2 separate regions of the Homo sapiens genome follow, and region 1 is linked to region 2. The links are contacts of gene promoters, found by promoter capture Hi-C in human tissues and cell types (Jung and others, 2019). All regions are on one chromosome and are shown on one strand. The core of a region is centred on a gene start or on the middle of the fragment in contact, and the rest is flanking DNA. Distances in the headings are between cores, read along the strand shown. Region 1 overlaps ERH (ERH mRNA splicing and mitosis factor). Region 2 holds the start of GALNT16 (polypeptide N-acetylgalactosaminyltransferase 16).

Region 1 (5,909 bases), core at 987-3,486, 130 kb before region 2:
TTTTTTTTTTTTTGCTCTGTGGCTTTAGGAAGAATTACTGAAAAACCTGTTAAGACCCACAGTGTTATTTGTTTGAGCCATCAGATGGCAAGTCTTTAAAGCCCCTTAGCTCCAGTGGTTTGAAGTAATCATTTTATTATTAAGACACAAAATAGTTACATCAACATTGTGGTGAATTTCTCAGCTGCCCAGACTGGAGTGCAGTGATGCAATCACGGCTCACTGCAGCCAAGTGATTCTCCCACCTCAGCTTCCCAGGTAGCTGGGACCACAAGCACACGCCATCACGCCTGGCTAATTTTTTAATTTTTGTAGAGATGAGGTCTCCCTGTGTTGCCCAGGCAGGCTGGTCTTAAACTGTGGGGCTCAAGTGATGCTCCTGCCTCAGCCTCCCAAAGAGCTGGGATTACAGGCGTAAGCCACTACACCTGACCTGGTGAATTTATAAAATAAAAAAGTATTTGCTAGTGGCAATAATCAAAAGCCATCAATCTATCATCTTTTCCCCAGCCCAACTTTATTAAAGTAAATATGATATCAACATATAGCACAGCTCATAAGCACTGCTCATATCTAGAAGTGTATGCGATTGTAAGATTTTGCTTTTTTTCCTATCCTTTCTTAGGTGTTTGTAAAATGTATGAAGAACATCTGAAAAGAATGAATCCCAACAGTCCCTCTATCACATATGACATCAGTCAGTTGTTTGATTTCATCGATGATCTGGCAGACCTCAGCTGCCTGGTGTAAGTATTAGCCAACATGTCTTTTATCTTGTATTTTCTATTGCTTTTCTGTCTGTTTGAGGTGATTTATGGTATTGGGAGCTAATTATGTGCCTGATACTGATCTTTGCATTTGCATAGTGTATAGTAATTAATATTTCTCTTACAGAAATAAGAGATTGGCAACATAAAGCCAAAGGCACAGAAAAAAATAACTTTGCTAATTGATATAGTTAGTATCCAGAAAGGATCCTAATTCAGAAGTTCCATGTGCCTCTTCTTTGTTCCTTATACCTAATTTTTTTTTTCCTTTACAGTCTTTGTCTTAAAGCCATTGGTTTTGGATTAAAACTAAGATTATCTTTTTTTCATGACATTTCAAAAACTTAAATATGCGTATAGCTGAAATTTAATTTCAATCCTACGCTGTGTAAGTACGTATATTTTGGTATGTTAGAGTGAGATTTTTTAACATATTTGTTATAGTTTGTATTGATAATCTGCTTCTGACAATTACTAACAAGGAGCATAAAGTGTTACTGTAGACTTACCTAATCTTTTTTACATTAGCGAACAGAAATTGAGTGTAAATACAGCTCATTTAACCGAGGAAAATGGAAGCACCTTATGATACAATACTCAATCATCAGATACTTGAATATTTATTACATGTCAGGTGCTGTGCTAGAAGTTGAAAGAGCAGTGATGAGAAATATACAAGTCTTACTCATAGGCACTTCCTGGATCACCACTGGAGCCAATCATGGAATGTGGCTGCACCATGCTGTCTCCCCAAAAGTTCCAAAACACGCATTTCCTTGGGATGTTTGAGTTTTGTTTTCTGTACCTCTTCATTGTGTTCCGGTTGTAGCCATTTCACTTTGATCACTCAGAACATTCAAATGAATGTTGCATGGTACTTTAAGCCATTCAGACATCTATAGGAAAAACATACCAGACAGAGGGGATGAGGGACAGCTAGTGTAGAAGTCCTGAAGTAGGAGTGCCTAGCATGTTTGAAGTCATTAAGGAAGCCTTTGAGGCTGCAGAGGAATGAGTGAAGGAGAGTGTCTTAGGAGATTGGAGGAGCAGGGAGCAATGATATCCTGGAAGCCAAATGCAGAAGTGTGTCATATCATTGATAGGACAGATATGTGAGGACTGAGAATTTAATTGACCCCTGGATTTGACACTGTGGAAGTCTTTGGTGACTTCCAGAACGGTTGTGGTAGAGTGCCAGGAGTAAAATGCTTACAGATTTCAGTGTATGGAAGGGAATGAAAAGAGAGGATTTATAGGTGGCCATTACAGGCTTGCTTTTTTTTTTTTTTTCCTTTTTTTTATTTAAAGAATTTTGCTTGAAAGAACAGAAAAATGGGGTTGTAGCTGGAGAAAGAAATTGCTTTTTTTTAAGTGGGAAAAGTAATGGTAAGTTTGCAGGCTGATGGGATGATGTACCAGAGAAGGAGAAACTGATAGCTCAAATTGGCTCTTGGACAGTTCAATCATAAAAAAGGGAGGACAGGCAAATTTGGGAGCTGGGGGGAATTATCTTCTGTATGCTTCAGTTATCTCAGAAAGATAAGGAGCAAGGACATCATTTGAAACAGGTGTTACAGGTTTGTGGAAAAGTAAGAAATAAGCTAGGAAGGTGAAAGAATTAGGGAACTGCAATTAATTCAGGGATGCATTAAGTGTCCTCCAAAGTACCTATCTGATAGTGATTTAAAGTGAAATCAGTCATTGTGATCATGGGATTTTTTTCCTAGTCTCTCTCACCTGGATGGTTACAGGTGAGGAGTAGGTAGAGAGTAAAGATTTTGCTAAAGGTTGAGGGCATATATGAGGACAACAGCAACGACTGAATGACCATGAGCTTTAATTGGGGGTGTAGGAGGAGGTGCTGGAAACAGAGGTAGATCAGTTCATTGTAGGTCCCACTGGATCAAGGATTGCTCACATTAGAGTGTTAGGAAGTGGTGATCAGAGAATGACATGCTTGAAATTAGGAAATTGAAGTAGTTGGAAATGACAAGGTCTAGGGATCTGGCCAAGAGAGGGTAGGAGATGAGATCATTAGAGGAAAAGACTTCATGGAATTGGGAGGCCTAAGTGTTGACAGAATCATCCACTGGATATGAAATTACCAATAATGTGTATATTAATTGATAGAATTTAAGAAGAAGTTGCTTTGTGTTTGTTCACTGCTGCATCTCTGGTACATAATTAGTGCTGAGTAAATATTGGTTATATAAATGCACGTCACTTGTGTTGTTATTTGAGGAATAGCTTTCTAAAATTATTGATAATTTTCTATTTCCCTTATTTATATTACAGAGCTATATTCTGCATTGATTAAAAATTAATGGTTGTCTTTATGGTTTTATAAAAGAACCTTACTGAAACATTCAGGATGTAATCCTGACGCTTTTGGGATGTCATACTTACTCCCAGTAAGTGGGAAGTAAACTTGAAGCAAAGGATCATGTTTTACTTGTCTTGGGAGGCTGTGGTTAAGAGCTAGCTGGAGTGGCAGAATTAGACATAGCTGGGTTTGAATCCTGGGTCTACCATTTGCTAGCTCCCTTTGACAAGGCAGCTTTGTATTGCTAAACTTTAGTTTGCTAATTTGTAAAATTCAGACAAATCTAGTTCATAAGACTCCTTGTGAGGATCAAGTGCTTGCTGAGCACAGCATTATTAGATATGCAGCAACTCCCTTTTCAACTAGATTGAAGAAGTCAGGATAGAGTTTTATTTTTAATTACAAGCATGTTCTTAAATTTGCCAGGAGTAGAATGATATGAATTTTAATGTCTACGTGTGAGATAAATTATAAATTTCAAGGGAGATTTAAAAGGTGTTGAGGTTTTTTCAACAATATGAAAATTGAGCAGAGTAAAACAGTTACAAGTGACATGTTAATGATATACAAGTATGTCATTAATGACATAACATAACTTTTCTAACTTTGTACTAGACTTTATAAAAAAAAAATTTTAGAGACAGGGTCTTGCTATATTACCCAGGCTGGTCTCAAACTCCTGGGCTCAAGTGATCCTCCTTCCTCAGCCTCCCCAAGGAGTGATATTACAGGCATGAGCAACTGTGCCCGGCTGCATTAGACTTTAAAATGTAAACTAGAAACCATATCTAGCATACTAAACTGATTTTTAATACAATATTTGCTATATTAAAGCAACATAGGGGGAAAGCTTTAATTATTACCTAGATAATTCTTCCCACCTACAGTATTTCCAGAAATATAGAAGAGAGGTTAATGATAATTTATGGTTTTTTAGTAGTTTCAGAGTGTTAAAAACCGTAAATTATCATAGCTTGAAAACCTGTAACTATTTGTTTGTTTCTAATGTTGAAAATTTTTTGGCCTCTGAAAAACTTTCAGAATCAAATTTAGGATTTAAAACTATTTTCCCCAGGTGACTTTGGTTATGTCCTTTTTGTTCTTTGAATATTCAGGAGAAATAAGGTATTGTTTCCAAAGAGGTAACCCACTGCCACAGCACATCCTGTGATTTGGGCCGTTACTCCTCAGACCAGAGACTGGGTCCGTTTTTGGTTTGTAGATGGTTGTGTGCTCATAGTTTCTATTAAATTTACATGGCAGTGACCTAGGACTTTTTTAAATTAATTCTTTTTAAACAGCGTAGGTGGAAATGGAATAAATAAGATTCTACTTTGTAACATGACTAAACCCAGAGCAAACTGACCATGCATTAATAATAAAATGTAGGCATGAAAATTTGTATTTCGTATACTTAAAGTCAGAGTCAGATTTTTCCAGTTTTCTGATCTGTATGTTTTTTAAATAAGCTTTTTGTAAGATGAAAATAATGCCCTTTTGATTATGCAGTATTTTCTTGTTTGCTTAGAGACATAAAGAACATTTAAACTGTCAGTTATTATAATGACAAGAGGTATTCCTGATCAGTAAGAGAAGTTATCACTGAAGACATTTCTGATTTCACTGCCCAGACCCACAGCTTCTGTTCTTATATAAACCTACATTCATTGACCATAACAATAGGTTAAAAGATTCATCTGTGCCAATGACTAGGCATTTTATTAAAGTATTTAACATTTAATTGTCTCATTTTCAAGTGCCAGTTAACAGCCATCGACACACAGCTTTCCATAAAGAAGGCATTATTGCTTTTTTTTTTTTTTTCTTTTGGAGATAGAGTCTTGCACTGTCGCCAGGGTTCAAGCGATTCTCCTGCCTCAGCCTCCCGAGTAGCTGGGACTACAGGTGCGCGCCACCACGCCCAGCTAATTTTTGTATTTTTTTTTTTTGGTGGAGACGGGGTTTCACAATGTTGGTCAGGATGGTCTTGATCTCTTGACATTGTGGCCCGCCTGCCTCAGCCTCCCAAAGTGCTGGGATTACAGGCATGAGCCACTGGCACCTGGCCTACTATTTGATGAGTTGGAAAATTGCATGCAAGTTGATGGATTCCTTAATGTTCACAAACCAGAGTGATTTTTGTTGGGGGGAATGGTATAAACAAAGCCTGTCCCACCCAGATATGATAATTGTGAGAAATTTTGTTCCTTTTTAAGTTATTTTCCAGTGTTAATATAAATGTTATAGTCTCTTCTGCTACATTTTGCAGTAGACTAGCTTAGAGCTTATTTAATTAGGAAGCATGGACAAAGAGTTTTCAGAAAAAATTAAATTTTAGAATTTTTAAATTTGGTTAAGCATTTTTAAAAATGGGAATCTTGTACATTTTTAATAAACCAGATTGTGACCTTACTGTTCAGAGGAAGAATATGATGTTAATTGTATAAAGCATTCCTACTTTGGAATTTATTTCCCTTGCCAAAAATTGTAGTTTAGGTTTCTAACTTAGTGATTAACAGTGAGGACTCTGGAGTCAGGAGTATTTAAAATCTATCTCCAGTCCAGCATTACCTAGCTAATAACTTGCTTCACTTTTTAAAGCCTTGGTTTCTCATTTATGAAAAAGGAGGCCAGGTGCGGTGGCTCACGCCTGTAATCCCAGCACTTTGGGCGGCCGAGGCGGCTGGATCACTTGAGGGTCAGGAGTTCAAGACCAACCTGGCCAACATAGTGAAACCTGGTCTCTACTAAAAATACAAAACATTAGCTGGACGTGGTGGCACACACCTATAGTCTTACCTACTCAGGAGGCTGAGGCA
Region 2 (5,695 bases), core at 2,003-4,502:
TACCACAAATTGCAGGGAGAAAGTAAATCCTCAGCTGCACCTGCCCCTTTTAAGTTGAACAAAGCATTCAATGCCTGCAGAAGCTTGAACGTACATCCCCCACCTCCTTACTTAGAGCCACCTCCTTACTTAGAGGTTACAGTTGATAATAAAATATTAAGGAGATATGAATATAATACAATAATATTAGGGGGATGTGAAGCATTGACTGCCCCCAGAAATGGGTGAGAATCCTATTTCACTCCTTTAAGAAGCCTTGCTGTGCACTTTAGGAGGCTGAGGTGAATGGATCACATGAGGTCAGGAGTTTGAGACCAGCCTGGGCAACATGATGAAACCCCATCTCTACTAAAAATACAAAAATTAGCTGAGAGTGGTGGCGCATGCCTGTAATCCCAGCTGCTCGAGAGGCTGAGGCATGAGAATCGCTTGAACCCGGGAGGTGGAGGTTACAGTGAGCCGAGATCATGCCACCTCACTCCAGCCTGGGTGACAGAGTGAGACTCCATCTCAAAAAAAAAAAAAAGAAAAAAAGAAATCTTGCTGTGTGCATCAATGTGGGGATGCAAGGAGCTTCCAGCACAGTTCCCGCATGCATCACTTACATTCAGCTGCAAATCACATGGAAGAAATAACTGGAAGAGAGGAATACAATGAAACAATGCAAGGCAGTTGTCAAAAGTGGTGCCTGACGGGGGGGTCAGTGCTGGTGGAACAGGCATCTAAAGCTTAAGAACAAAGAGGGAGCTGGCTGTGCCCCTAAGTGGCCACAGAAGGCTCTGCCACTCCCAGGGACTTCCATTCTCCCTTTCTTCCTGCACCTTCACTTCCCAGCTCCCAGGTATCTCCCTGATACTCCTTCATACTTTAAACTTAGCTTCCCGCTCTGAGACCTTTTCTTACCTGCAGCAAGTCAAACCCTGTGGGAATAAGCAGGGACAAGAGGATGTTTACTGGTGATTCTCATGACCTCCAATTCCCACCCCTCAAAATGAGTGCTGAATCCTTCCAGCAGGTCCCCTACACCATTCTGGGACTCTTGAGAAATGTGAGCGGCCCTCCCAGTGCATCTTACAGGACTCTGGAAGGAGCAGGAGAGAGGTGCATGGGCCAGGTCAGGGTTCAGGTTCCGGGTTCCAAAGCAGAGGCTCTGAGCAGCAGTCTCCTGTGCTCTCTTCCCTCCTCTCCTCCCTGCCCAGCCTCTTTCTCCGCCCCTTCCAACTCAGACCCTCTTCTCATCGCCTCACCAGAAAGAGGGACAGAGCATCTGGCCAGCCTGCCTTGCCTGAGACTAGGGCTCTTCCTGCCACTGAGTATGAATGTGGCAGCCTGGGCTCCTGGAGAGGAAGCTCCCTGGGGTCTGGAGGCCACTGCTGGTTTGGACAGTTCCAGCTCCAACCTGTCCCTCTGCTCAGATCACAACACTCTGGGGCCTCAGCACAGGAGGCTTTTCCTTATCAGTTTTCTGTCCAAAGGGCGACAAGTGCTTTGGAAACAGTGTCCTGGGAGAACAGCCCAGAAGGGAACAGTGCACCTAATCAGGCTTGCCCCCAGAGAGTTCACCCAGACTGGTATCTAGGACAAAACCCACAACCTCACCCCCCCGCCCCAGGTCTCCTCAGGCAAAGCCCTGAAATAATGTTTCCTTTGCAGGGGACTCGGAATCTGGGGCAGGATGGGAATATGAGGGGACACTCTCCAATGAACTTCCCGATATTCCTGGGGTTCAGATCCGCGTCTGGATGCGTTTCTCGGATTCGGCTCCACACAAGCCTCAGCCCTCCGGACCTTGCACCTCCCCCGCGGATCTCCTCACCCCTCCACCCCCAGGCCCAGATCTTTCCTTGTCGGAATCGCCACGCTTCCTCACTCCTTTACCCCCGCCCCACTCGGCTCTCCTCTTCCTGGTCCTCATCCGGCCAGGCTGCCCCGCCCTGGTAGTTCCCGAGGGTCGTCCGAGGCTCTCGTCCACCAACCGCCCCCGTCTGGAAGAATGCGCCCGCTCGAGCGCACTCTCGGCGGGTGCCAAAGCCTCCCGCCTCAACAGGTGCCCCTGCCTGGCCACGCACAGCTCTGTCACCTGGGGCTCGGACGGAGACGGCGACAGGATCGCCCCCTGCAGGGCGGCTGCGGCTCCGCACGCCCCCGCCCGGGTCCCCAGAGCGCCAAGGGCCCCCGCAGCCCCGCCGCCGCCCCCGCTGTGCCACACTGCCTTTGTTTCCCTGCCCGCTTAGATGTCGCGAGGCTGACTTCATGCAAGGGTATCGCCAAGTTCGGGCGCTGACACTGCCCACCTACCCGTGGTGGCGGACCCTAAGGTTGGGAGTGAGAGACGCGTACAGTGCGAGACCTCTCCTCAACCCAGAGAACTCCGGGGAAGCTGGGTGTCCGCGCCGAAGAAGCGGGTTCAAGTTGACCCGGCTCAGAAGGGGGTTCGAAGCCAGGCGCAGCGCCTAGAGAGCCTTCCCCTACCCACGCCCCCACCCGATGTCCTCTGCCCCCAGAAGGCTGGAGAGGGGCTGCGCACTGCCACCTACGCGCTCGGCTGCGAGTGGTTCCCACCGCCCGCTCGCCGCGCGCTGGGCCCGGCAGCCTTCCGGGGCACACGAGGCTCCCGCAGCCCCCAGACTCCCGGCCCCGGCAGCGCAGAGCCGGGAGAGCCGCCACGTTCCCAGCCGCGCGCGCACGCCGGGCCCACCAAACTTGCAGCACTTTCTCCCAGCCCCCACCCTCTGTCACCCTCCCTTAGTCGGTGCGCCCCAGCCCCGCCGCCCGGCAGAGGTTGCCATAACAACGGGCAGGAATGCTCCAACATATACAAAGCCGGCCCGGCGCAGCGGGCACTCAGCCCTGGCCGGGCCCCGCGCCCTCGGCCGCCGCGCAGGGTCTGGACGCGCGCCGCGGCTCCCTAGCCGGCCGGCCGACGCTCGGGGCGTACTCACAATGAGCGGGATGGTGCGGTCCTCGCGGAGCTGCTCCGACCTCCTGCCTGCCCTCTGCGCGCCCCGGCCGCCGGAGGATGCTGCGTGGGCTCGGTTGTCCTGCCATAAGTAGTAGAAAGTGCCCAGGATCCAGGCTACGGTCAGGATGGCGATGGCATTGGCGCGGATCTTCCTCATGGTGGGCAGACGGGCGCCCCAGGTGGGGGACTGGGCCGGCGTGCTCTCGGGGCCGGGGCGGGGGCGCTCGCAGCCCCAGCTGTTTGTTTTCGCTCGCGCCTAGCTGCTCAGTCCTGCAGAGCAGAAAAAGGAGAGAGGTGGGGGGGCGGGGGGGTGATAGGGAGAGACAGGATCGCGGAGCGATCCTCACGGTCCTAATGCCCTTCAGCCCCGAGCGCGCGCGTCCCCCGGGCGCCCATTCATTCGTGCGCAGGGCCGGCCCCGCGCTCCAGCCGCCGCCGGCTGACCCACCAGGCCACTGCGCACTGGGAGAGAAGCGCGCCGAGTGGGAAGCGGCGCGGGCCTTCCTCCCGCGCCCGGGAACCCGGCGAGACAGACGCCCGCGGCGGAATGGCGACTGGCCAAAGCCAGCCTCGGCTCCCACCGCTAGGTGACCGAACGCCCGGCAGCTGCCCCCGCGCGGCCCTGGTCGGTCCTGCCGACCCACACCCACCCCCGGACCGAGCGGCCTTGAGTCACCGACTGGAGACGCGCGACCCCCGACCTGGGCCCGCGCCGCGAGCTGCAGTTCCGGGCTGCGCTCTGGCGCGGGATTCAAGGTGTGTTCGGCGAGTCCTTGTGTAGGGGCGGCTGGGCGGGGGAGAGTCCTGAGTTTGTACTGGAATCTGCAGCTGAGATTAGCCAGACCGGGCCCGCCCAGAGGAGGGATTGGAAGCTGGTGCACTTGACATTCGAAGAGCGCGAAGGGGAAACGACGCTGCCTCACACCCAGTGCTAGGAGAGTGCGGGTACGGCCCTTCCACATTTTTCGCTGGCCTGGGGCTCCCAGATTTCACGATGCTTCCCTCTATCCCGCCTCATTGACCCCTGGACAACCCTGAAATATCATCGTCAGCATTATTTCATCGGAAAGAAGGGCAGCAAGAGAGGCCGGATGATTCTCCCAAGGCCACACAGCTAATTAGTGGGCAGAGCCCAGTCTAGAAGCCATCTCACCATCTGACACCTTTCGACAAAGTGCAAAACGCGGTGGTGAGAGACGAGGACACAGACATTAAGATTCCGCTCCAGCCCTAGAGGCACTGAGAATCAGAACGTGAACTACTCTTCACTCCAGGCAGAAAGCAAGAGGCTTGGATGAGTTTTAGGAAACCAGCACAGTGTCGGGCACAGAGCGCTCAATGAATAGATGTGTAACAACAAAGTAGGGATCCAACAGAGGAAGAAATAATTTATTGTAAGGTGGCCTTTGGGAAAGCTCTCAGAAAGGTGGATGAATCACTTAAGAGGTAAGGAAGGGGGAGGTGAGGACAGGGGAGAGACTGCAGAAATAGGCCTTGCAAAAATCCAGAGGATGGAAGAGCTTGATGTGTTCAAGAGAGAGAGCTGCCAGGCGTTGCAGGGGGCCTAGGATTTGATAGGAGTTGAGGTTGGCCAGGCTGGGTGAGTCTGAACTCAGGAGGTCCTTGAATGCCGGGGCAGAGTTGTTGAGGAGTCTGCTTCCTGCTGGCACTGCTGGACACCATGGCTACTCCGAAGACCCACATAGGGTCCAGCCTCTAAATGAAGCCATCTGGGGAATCAGGCAAACTGAAGTCACAGCATCATGCCCCCCCACAAGCATCCCATGAGCACCACCCTGACAGATAGAAGTAAAATCAGGTGGCTTTTCTCCATTTCTCCAGCACTCGAGACTGAACCGCACATATAATAGATGCTCAATACATTTCTGTTGAGGTGAAGAAACCCTAGTTGGGTTTTTGCTGAGGAAAACCCAGGGTCATTACTGCAATACGATATCCTCACTCAGAAGACTAATTACGATGACACTTAGACAAGTCCAAAAGTGACCCACGCAGGAATGGGACCTAGAAAGAAGAGAATGCACAAAGAGGGCCTCACAAAGGGTCTACACAAGTAGCAGGGAATTTCAGGCATAAGGTGTGGCAGTCACAACAGGGGCAGGAGTCTGGAGACGCCAGATGCTCTCCCAGGTCTCTCTCCCCTGGGGAGTTTAATAAGACTGCGCCAGGGGCCAGGGCTTGTTTGCATAGATGGAGAAAACCACTGCCAAACCTCCATCTGGTTTCCGCAGGAATCATGGGGCAGATCCAGCGGTGCCATTTGTGGGAGGCCAGGAAAGACCTTGCTCCTTGGGAATCAGGCTCCACAGGCCTCTCAGGTCAACCAAGAAAATGTAAGGGAACTACCCTCCTGGTGCCCCCATTTTCACACATCTCTCAGGTGAGCCAGGTGAAAACTTGGGGAGTAGCCCTGTTGTCATAGGCTGCTCCCCTCATCCCAGCCTGGTCTGTGCATCTCTAGTTGCCTTTGGATGTGGGATTCGAAGACATCACATCACCTATCACCTCCTGGTAAAAGGCTCCAAACTCACCCCTCGGCACGGGGATGAAGCTGGACCATGCTGACTGAAACCAGACAGTTGGGGCTTCTGGTGACTCCAAAAGGAAGGCTCCATGGGGGGAAGGAGGGAGGGGTGGGATGGGCTGGAATGTGGCAGGGTTTCTCACATCTCACCACTTACTGCCCAGGGCTCAGTGGTGAGGATGCTATAT

What was found. The method cuts DNA at HindIII sites, captures the fragments that hold promoters and counts their contacts. A contact is called where the count stands out against the background at its distance.
Region 1: a contact is called between a fragment that was not itself captured here and the fragment with the promoter of GALNT16 in region 2, in 8 of the 25 tissues and cell types used here (aorta, dorsolateral prefrontal cortex, heart right ventricle and 5 more).

The regions. Positions count from the first base shown.
Region 1 is chr14:69,381,800-69,387,708 of GRCh38, reverse strand. ERH (ERH mRNA splicing and mitosis factor) reads left to right here. Exons shown (of 4, transcript NM_004450.3): 3 at 626-746. It also overlaps a transcript of GALNT16 not described here. Among named protein-coding and RNA genes, the nearest start is that of ERH, 14 kb to the left of the region's middle. The HindIII fragment of the contact is 7,932 bases long and covers 1-5,909 here.
Region 2 is chr14:69,257,715-69,263,409 of GRCh38, reverse strand. It overlaps GALNT16 (polypeptide N-acetylgalactosaminyltransferase 16), which reads right to left and starts at 3,252. Exons shown (of 15, transcript NM_001168368.2): 1 at 2,943-3,252. The coding sequence starts at 3,119. It overlaps GALNT16-AS1 (GALNT16 and EXD2 antisense RNA 1), which reads left to right and starts at 2,883. Exons shown (of 4, transcript NR_184249.1): 1 at 2,883-3,120. RefSeq lists a silencer at 2,147-2,206. The HindIII fragment of the contact is 13,760 bases long and covers 407-5,695 here.